Linked DNA regions of Homo sapiens: regions 1 and 2 are each linked to region 3. Evidence: promoter capture Hi-C in 16 types of primary human blood cells and fetal thymus (Javierre and others, 2016). All regions are on one chromosome and are shown on one strand. The core of a region is centred on a gene start or on the middle of the fragment in contact, and the rest is flanking DNA. Distances in the headings are between cores, read along the strand shown. Region 1 overlaps LINC02625 (long intergenic non-protein coding RNA 2625). Region 2 overlaps NRBF2 (nuclear receptor binding factor 2). Region 3 holds the start of ZNF365 (zinc finger protein 365).

Region 1 (2,700 bases), core at 200-2,699, 520 kb after region 3:
CCTCACCACCCTCTCAAGTTTCCCCAAGTCCCCAAACTCCATTGTATCACTCTTATGCCTTTGCATTCTCATAACTCAGCACGGACTTTAAGTGAGAACATATGATATTTGGTTTTCCATTACTGAATTACTTCACTTAAAACAATGGTCTTCAGCTCTATCCAAGTTGCTGCAAAAGACATTATTTTGTTTCTTTCTATGGCTGAGTAGTATTCCATGATGTATATTTACCACATTTTCAAAGGGCCATTTCTGATTGATGTCAGCCTTCCAGAAAAGATGTTCCCAGGGAATACAAGGCAATAGCTTTGGGCTTACATTGGCATATTTCACTGGTAGTAATGGTTGCTCACACCACCACTTTTGAAGAGGGATATTGAGAAAGACTAATGTCTGAAGTATCTACCCCACTGAAGCTGAAGTCCACCACTCACTATTGGTTAAGCAAGAAGCTCACTCCCACCTGTAGGCCCTGGGGTCAGAAGACATGGATATGCCACTTCACTCTGTGACTTATAAGCAGTGGGATTGTGAGGAAATCACTTTTCCTCTTCAAACTTTCTCATTTCTGAAATGAGGTTCACACTCCCTGCCCTGCCTAACTCATAAAGTAGCTGCAGGATTCAAGAGATGAAGGGAAAAGGCTTCATTGACAGTAAAATGTCATCTGCCTCTGAACTGCTATTATCTTTCCCTTGTGATATTTTATAGCTCAGTACCACTTCTTCTCCCGAAGACTGCCTCTCATTCCATGGTGGGGCGCTTGCAGGCTCATCAGTATAAATCAGCTTACAAATAAATCTATGAATGCACTCACCCACATCACTCCTTCACTCTCCATAGTAACAAACAGTGTATCATATTTTCTGGCTGAGAAGCATGGAGCAGTGTGTTTGCTTTTTCTCCTTCTCCCAGTGATATCTGCTGGCCCACCCCTACCAGAGATGGTAAAATTCAAAAAGTCACATGACATCAAACAAAAGTGGGAAGGGAAGATCACCTTTAGAGGAGCTCTAGATGAAGACATTTTTTCAGTTTATGAATATAGGAGTAATGGCATTTTGTGTTTAAAAAGGATGCCCACAACAGAATAATTAAAGTAAGATGTTTCAGGAGAGTCATTTTTCAGGAAGAGGAGTTGCTCAGGGCTTCTCTGGCTGTGTAGACAGCAGCCACCACCTACACCTAGATGAGTTGCCTTTCACTTTCTCCTTCAGGATTTTCCTGGAGAGGTGAGACTTCAATGGGAAGGACTATCACAGACCACAATGGGAATGGTGTTTCCTAGAGTCATAACTGCACAACCTTCTAAGGTGGACCCGGAAAGGAAATCACATCAACAGGGAGAAGAGTGGCTGCTCTTGGCTGTCATCAAATGTTAGTTTAGTCTCTAGATGACATTGATTTGTGGTAACAGCTTTGAGTGCTTTACACAGAGTGTGAATGTGGTGTTTGTAAAAATTTGGACTTGATGTCTCACCCTCATGATGCATTCATGAGTTCCGGAAGCCACAGCTCTGACAAATGGCCTTGGTGATAGGCTGGAAAAAGAGTATCCTCCAAGTATTTAGAAGAGTTAACTTGTTTGATACTGGGAACACAAATTTAAAAATAAAAAAAAGACTCATATTTTCAGTGGTCTGGGCATCTCTTGAGTTTTAGATCAAGATCCTCTAGAATAGTTGCACATCTTTTCTTACAACTCAGGCAATTTTGTTTCACTTTATTATATGCTATCTCTTCTAAGCCCAAACCTGTTTCTTCTCACATTCTCCCCATCCCAGCAAATGTCACCCTCACCTACTCAGTTACTCAGAACCTTGGGGTCATCCTTATCTCTTCTCTTTCCTTAGCACCCCATACCTAACCTCTCAGCATTGACTCTCCATCCCATATCTGACCATGTTTTCTCAACTCCACTGCTCCCACCCTAGTTCAAGACATTCTTGTCTCTCTTCTAGAACACAGCCTCTCTACCATTCTCTTGATCCTATTTGTAACTCCCTAATAGCTGCTGTTCTCACAAGAGTCAGAGTGATGTTTAGAAAAACATCTAGAGACATTGTTTGCCATTCACCTCTCAGAACCTTCTAAGGACTATGTCTCAGGGTAACCAAGAGAGAAAAAGTTTCTCTTTATGTAAGTATTTCTGTTAATAAAGAAAGAAGCAGGTGTAGAATTAGAAAACTACTACTTAAACATGTCTAGGTAACAATCCCAATGGCTGCCAAGATCACACATGAAAAGAGACAACTTGAAATAGTGTGTGTATGTACACATACTATGACCCAAGAAGGTTGCTTTTTGTGTGTGAGAATATTAAACCTGAATGTGATCTAGCTTCTAGACCTAATAACCAATTTTGAGGATATACAAGGGATAAAGGTACATAAGAAATGACACAATGGGAATGTACTTAGCAAAATCCAGACTGTGGGAAGTGCTGCAGGACAAATAATTTGGCAAGGGGTGGGGAAAAGAGTAGAGCCAGCTCGTACCTGGTTTTCCAAGACTTTCCTGGTTGTAGCACTGTAAGTATGGAATCTTGAAACCCACCCAGTCCCAGGCAAATTGAAATGGTTCGTCCCAGTCAGGGAGGTGGGAAGGAGAACTCTATAGATTAACAGAGGCTTCAGAGATGCAGAGTTGGATCCTACTTAAATAAAAATTGTGTGCATATAGGGGGCACTGACTAATGGT
Region 2 (2,700 bases), core at 63-2,562, 770 kb before region 3:
AATACTCACCTGCAGCCTTTTTGTGACAAGAAATAGCCTCTTCGTATTTGCCTGCAGCTAATAAACGGTCTGCTCGTCTGCTCTGTTGATGAGCCTAGAAGACAAACATCCCTAAGTTCCTCTGGATCATAAAATAAAACATGATTTCTTTCAAAAAGCAACTACCTTTTAAGAAGATAAATAATACTGTTTTGTTGCCACATATCAAATCACTATTACAGCTCTATCTGTAGCTGGGGAAATGTAATGGGTAGAGCCTAGAACTGCAGCATCTGAAAGGAACTGGCAACTTCTTTCACTTCTACCATAAGCCCTCTCAAGGTTAACACCAGGCACTTAACTCCTTCAGTGACTCACATTCTTCCACTCTTTGGAGATAAACCAAGAGTTACAATCATAGATTGTTATTCAAAATGTCTATTTTCTTGATTTTTAACAAGCTCCTTTCAAAACAAGAGCTATTTTGTAGATACTTTCACTAATCTGTATAGTCTAAAAACTATAATCAGGAAATCACTCATCATGTAGTAAAATCCAAGCTTCTCTTCTATCATCTCATTCTTTCAACATTAAAGTTACTATTTGTTTTTAAAATAAAAAATTTGGACATTGCAGTTGATGAATTCATGATACCAACATCTAATATTACAAAGATTGTTTTAAAGATATCTCATCAAAAGAACAAAGTCAAAAAAATCAGAAGTTCTAACAGCAAATAATGTAATTGAAGGAAAACTTATTAAATAAGCAGTCACTGGCCTCCTTACACTTTAATAATTTCAAAAGAGCTTTAAGTCCAGGCACAGTGGCTCATGGCTGTAATCCCAGCACTTTGGGAGGCTGAGGCAGGCGGATCATCTGAGGTCAGGAGTTCAAGACCAGCCTGGCCAACATGGTGAAACCCCATCTCTACTAGAAATACAAAAATTAGCTGGGCGCAGTGGCTCACGCCTGTAATCCCAACACTTTGGGAGGCCGAGGCGGGCAGATCATGAGGTCAGGAGATCGAGACCATCCTGGCTAACAGGGTGAAACACCGTCTCTGCGGGCGCCTGTAATCCCAGCTACTCAGGAGGCTGAGGCAGGAGAACTGCTTGAACCTGGGAGGCAGAGGTTGCAATGAGGCAAGATCATGCCATTGCTCTCCAGCCTGGGTGAAAACAGTGAAACTCCATCTCAAAAAAAAAAAAAAAAAAAAAAAGCTTTAATATACATTATTTCAGCTGCTTTAACTACGACTTTGTTAATGTGTTTTCCTCTCTTACATAAGGAGGCCCAAAAGACTGATGGGGAGGTCGTGTAACTTACATAAGATTATACATTTAACTAGCAAGGAGAAAGGCAGAGATAATCAGCTAAAGTTTTCTACCTCATGTAACGATTTTCCTCAGTAACAAACACACACGATTTAGCAAAGCTTCACAGCTTCACAAAAAAGCAAAAAGCATTGTACACCCATATTCATAACAGCATTATTCACAACAGCCAAAAGGTGAAAGCAATCCAGATGTCCATCAACAGATAGATGGATAAATGCAGTATACACACACAATGGAAAGGTACTGTCTTTAAAAGTAAGGTAATTCTGGCCGGGCGCGGTGGCTCACGCCTGTAATCCTAGCACTTTTGGAGGCCGAGGCAGGCAAATCACAAGGTCAGGAGATCGAGACCATCTTGGCTAACACGGTGAAACCCCGTCTCTACTAAAAATACAAAAAAAATTAGCCAGGCGTGGTGGGGGGCACCTGTTGTCCCAGCTACTCAGGAGGCTGAGGCAGGAGAATAGCGTGAACCCGGAAGGCAGAGCTTGCAGTGAGCCGAGATCGCGCCACTCCACTCCAGCCTGGGTGACAGAGCGAGACTGTGTCTCAAAAAAAAAAAAAAAGGGAAGATAATTCTGACACATACTACAACATGGATGAACTGTGAGGACATTAGACTGAATAAAATAAGCCAGTCATAAAAGGACAAATACTATACAAATCGACTTATTGGGTATCTAAAGTAGTCAAATTCTTAAAAACAGGAAAGTTGAATGGTGGAACAACTCATCATTGAACAGGGGAGGGGGAAATGGGGAGTAGGTATTCAAACGGCATAGTTTCAGTTTTGCAAGATGAAAAAATTCTGGACATTTGTTGCACAACCATGCGAATATACTTAACACTACTAAACTGTACACTTAAAAATAATTAAGAAGGTAAACTTCACGTGTTTTTTACATCACTTAAAAAAGGTAAAAAGTGGCTGGGTGCTGTGGCTCATGCCTATAATCCCAGCACTTTAGGAGGCCAAAGCAGGCAGATCACTCGAGCTCAAGAGTTTGAGACAAGCCTGGGCAATATGGTGAAAACCCATCTCTACAAAAAATACAAAAATTAGCCGGGTGTGGCGCTCGCACCTGTAGTAGTAGTCCCAGCTACTGAGGAGGCTGAGGTAGGACAATCACTTGAGCCTGGGTAATGGAGGCTGCAGTGACCTGTGATCGCACCACTGCACTCCAGTCCGGGCAACAGAGTGAGATCTTGTCTCAAAAAAAAAAAAAAAAAAAAATCGGGCATGGTGGCTCATGCCTGTGATCCCAACACTTGCGGAGGCCAAGGCGGGTGGATCATCTGAGGTCAGGAGTTTGAGACCAGTCTGGCTAACATGGTGAAACCCCGTCTCTACAAAAATTAGCCCAGCAGGATGGTGGGTGCC
Region 3 (2,700 bases), core at 137-2,636:
GTGGAATTCAAGTTTCCTCCCCTCCTGAATTTGGCACACTAAATGCAAAACCGTGCCCCATTTTAAGGATACAATCCGAGATGCGTGAACACAAGAACATATGAAAACTCACATGAATTGTCAAAATGGGTCCTAAGACAGCAAGCTCAGGACCTATCCTCAAGTACAGGAAAGATTACTCAAGCTATGCACAGTGGCATTAAGCCTGCAATCAGCTGAAAATTTTTCACCCTGAAATTTTTGCCTTTTTTTCCTTCAGGTATTGCTGTGATGACATAAACCAAAGTGCTAATCGTAACAATAACAGACCCCATACGTGAGTTTCACTGAAACCTGGGGACCCAATGTGTCAAATACCATTTGGCATAAGTGGGGCCATGGCCAAGATTTTTATTATAATAGAGTGTTCTGGACGGATTTGTCTTGTCTCAGATGCTATTTTATATGACAACCTCTAGGGATGGTCAGTGTGTGAACCAGGTAGGTATCAGCATACTCTCTTAATAACAGGAAGTTCTGGTTTCCTTGTAGGAATGCATTATCTTCACCCTAGCAACAGATGACTGTTGGCAACCCAATTCTGCAAGCAGTGCATATCTTCTATTCCTCCATGAAAGGTTTCTACTTAAATGTAACAAGCATTGGACCCGAAATGAGGGAGCCCAGCTGGGGTCTTTGGGTGAAAAGTGTCCTCAACCTCTTCAAAAGCAGAGGTGCAAATGGTCCCCAGGCAGCGAGGCAGGCAAGGCTTCTAGGTGAAGCCCCCGGCCCCCAGAGAGGGGAACCTCTTCCTGTGATGGGTACACCGGGATGTTTAACCACTGGTTTTCTGGGAACGAGATGCAAACCCTGGCTCAGCATAGGGCCAAAGACGCTGACAAGAGGTAAGGAAAGGGGAAGTCAGGATTCTAAGGGGGCAATGGGAAAAGGGTGGCATTTTGGATGGGGAAATGGGTAATCACACACTCCAGAGCACGCAGGCTTTTATGGGCCCAGAGGAAACCCAGTCCACTGGGCTGATGAAGAGCCCTAAGTGACTCTGCCAGAGAAGGGCAGGCTGGCAATGACCCTGCCCCGGGGTCCCAGCTCTCCCCGCCCCCTCTCCGCTGCGTGCCAGCCCACGGGTGCCAGAGTGGATTCGTGTGCACATGAGTTCCTGCTGGTGGGGGCCGGGAAGCCGGCTCTCCCAACTCCCCGCCATGCTGCGGGCTCGGGGACCCCCTCCCCAGCCCCGGCCACCCCGGCAGGTCCCCTCCGCCGAGCCGCGGGCGCAGATGGCCGGCGGCCGCCTCTTACCCGACTTGTTGCTGCTGCTGCTGCAGCCGCCGCCTCCGGTGCTGATGCTGCGGGAGCGAAGCGGTTTTCAGCAGAGCCGTAAATCAGACTGAGCCGGGCCGGCTCCCACTCCCCGCCGCACCTCCGCGCCGGGACCGGCGGCGTCCAGGGCGGAGCGAGGCGCGGCTAGCCAGCGGGGGCGGCGCTCGCGGGCACCGTGGGGCACCGCGCCGTGGGTGCGGGGGTTCCGGAACGCCGCGGCCCAGGGCTGCCACCTCCGCGGGGAACACCCTTGCTCTGCCCAGCTGGCGGGAGCATCATCTGCCCCCCCGCCACCCAGCCGGGAGCCCGATCCGACTCAGGATTACACTGACATCACTGCGAGAGATGCTGGGATCATTCCCCGGGGGAGGGAAGGAAAGACGCGTGTCAGCCTCGCAGTCGCGGCGCTTTCTGCAGGCCCTGGCAAGCTTTTTTGCACTAGTTTGGGGGGAGCGGGAGAGTGTGGATGAGGATGCAGCATAGCTGGGCATCTTCTTTGAAAATCTACCCGTTGGAAGGTCCGGGTATTTAATTAGGACCTCTTCATCCCAAGCAGCAGGGCGAGAATGTCCCAAAATAACTAACCCAGAGAGTACACTCCAGCCTTCCTAGCCAAGTGTCCTGAGGCTACGTTAACAGGCAGAACTAAATCTAGTAAAGTGCAGGGATTAATGAACAAACAGTTAAAGCAACAAGATCCCTCACCTACACCCCCATTTCTGAGGCGGACGCCCCTTTCCCTGGAGAAAAAATTTGTCCTCCTAAAGAGGGGATGTCCTGAAGAGAAGACGGCAAATCATTCCTTCTGAAGGACTCTGATGTCTCAGCTTGCTGGGCTTTTGCTTTTTTTTTTTTTTTTTTTTTTTTTTAACCTGTTTTGGTTTACCCCTACTGTAACTCCTGAAATGTGAAACCTAGATAAAAGTTACTGCTGGGTTTTCTTGTTCAAAGAAGAGAAGAGATTCTGTTCATCTGTAGACAGTTAATGCATCCTCTTGACTTCTCAGGGTGTCTTTTCTCAAGGCTTGCTGTTACTCATTTCAACACCCGATTTTATTTTAACGGTAAAGAGCTCAACAGTTATCTTAGTTGAAATTTTGTTTTGTTTTTGACAAATGAAAACAAATGAATTGCTTTGTTTTTTCACAAATGAATTATCACATCAAATGCAATGAAGATCCCAAGCTCTGGCATCAGACTTGATTCAAATCCTGGTTCTAGGGCCTGGGTCAAGTAACTAGACTTTTCTGTTCCTTCAATTCCTCATCTATGAAATGAAGATAATCAAGACCTACCTCTTAATATAGCGGTGGATCGAATGTGCTATGATGATGGAGGTAAAAACCCTGCCTGACAGGGACACACACTGATAAAGTCAGCTGT

What was found. Contacts are between HindIII fragments. The CHiCAGO score rates a contact against its expected background, and 5 or more counts as called.
Region 1: a fragment that was not itself captured here is called in contact with the fragment with the promoter of ZNF365 in region 3 in 1 of 17 cell types (neutrophils); the score reaches 5.1 in neutrophils.
Region 2: a fragment that was not itself captured here is called in contact with the fragment with the promoter of ZNF365 in region 3 in 1 of 17 cell types (naive B cells); the score reaches 6.5 in naive B cells.

What each region holds. Positions count from the first base shown.
Region 1 is chr10:61,856,712-61,859,411 of GRCh38, reverse strand. All of the region lies in intron 2 of LINC02625 (long intergenic non-protein coding RNA 2625), which reads left to right. Among named protein-coding and RNA genes, the nearest start is that of LINC02625, 9.9 kb to the left of the region's middle. The HindIII fragment of the contact is 7,953 bases long and covers 1-2,700 here.
Region 2 is chr10:63,143,603-63,146,302 of GRCh38, reverse strand. It overlaps NRBF2 (nuclear receptor binding factor 2), which reads right to left. Exons shown (of 4, transcript NM_030759.5): 2 at 10-94. Among named protein-coding and RNA genes, the nearest start is that of NRBF2, 12 kb to the right of the region's middle. The HindIII fragment of the contact is 215 bases long and covers 1,205-1,419 here.
Region 3 is chr10:62,373,055-62,375,754 of GRCh38, reverse strand. It overlaps ZNF365 (zinc finger protein 365), which reads right to left and starts at 1,386. Exons shown (of 5, transcript NM_014951.3): 1 at 1,297-1,386. It overlaps LOC283045 (a long non-coding RNA gene), which reads left to right and starts at 628. Exons shown (of 4, transcript NR_104162.1): 1 at 628-884. The HindIII fragment of the contact is 2,300 bases long and covers 1-1,747 here.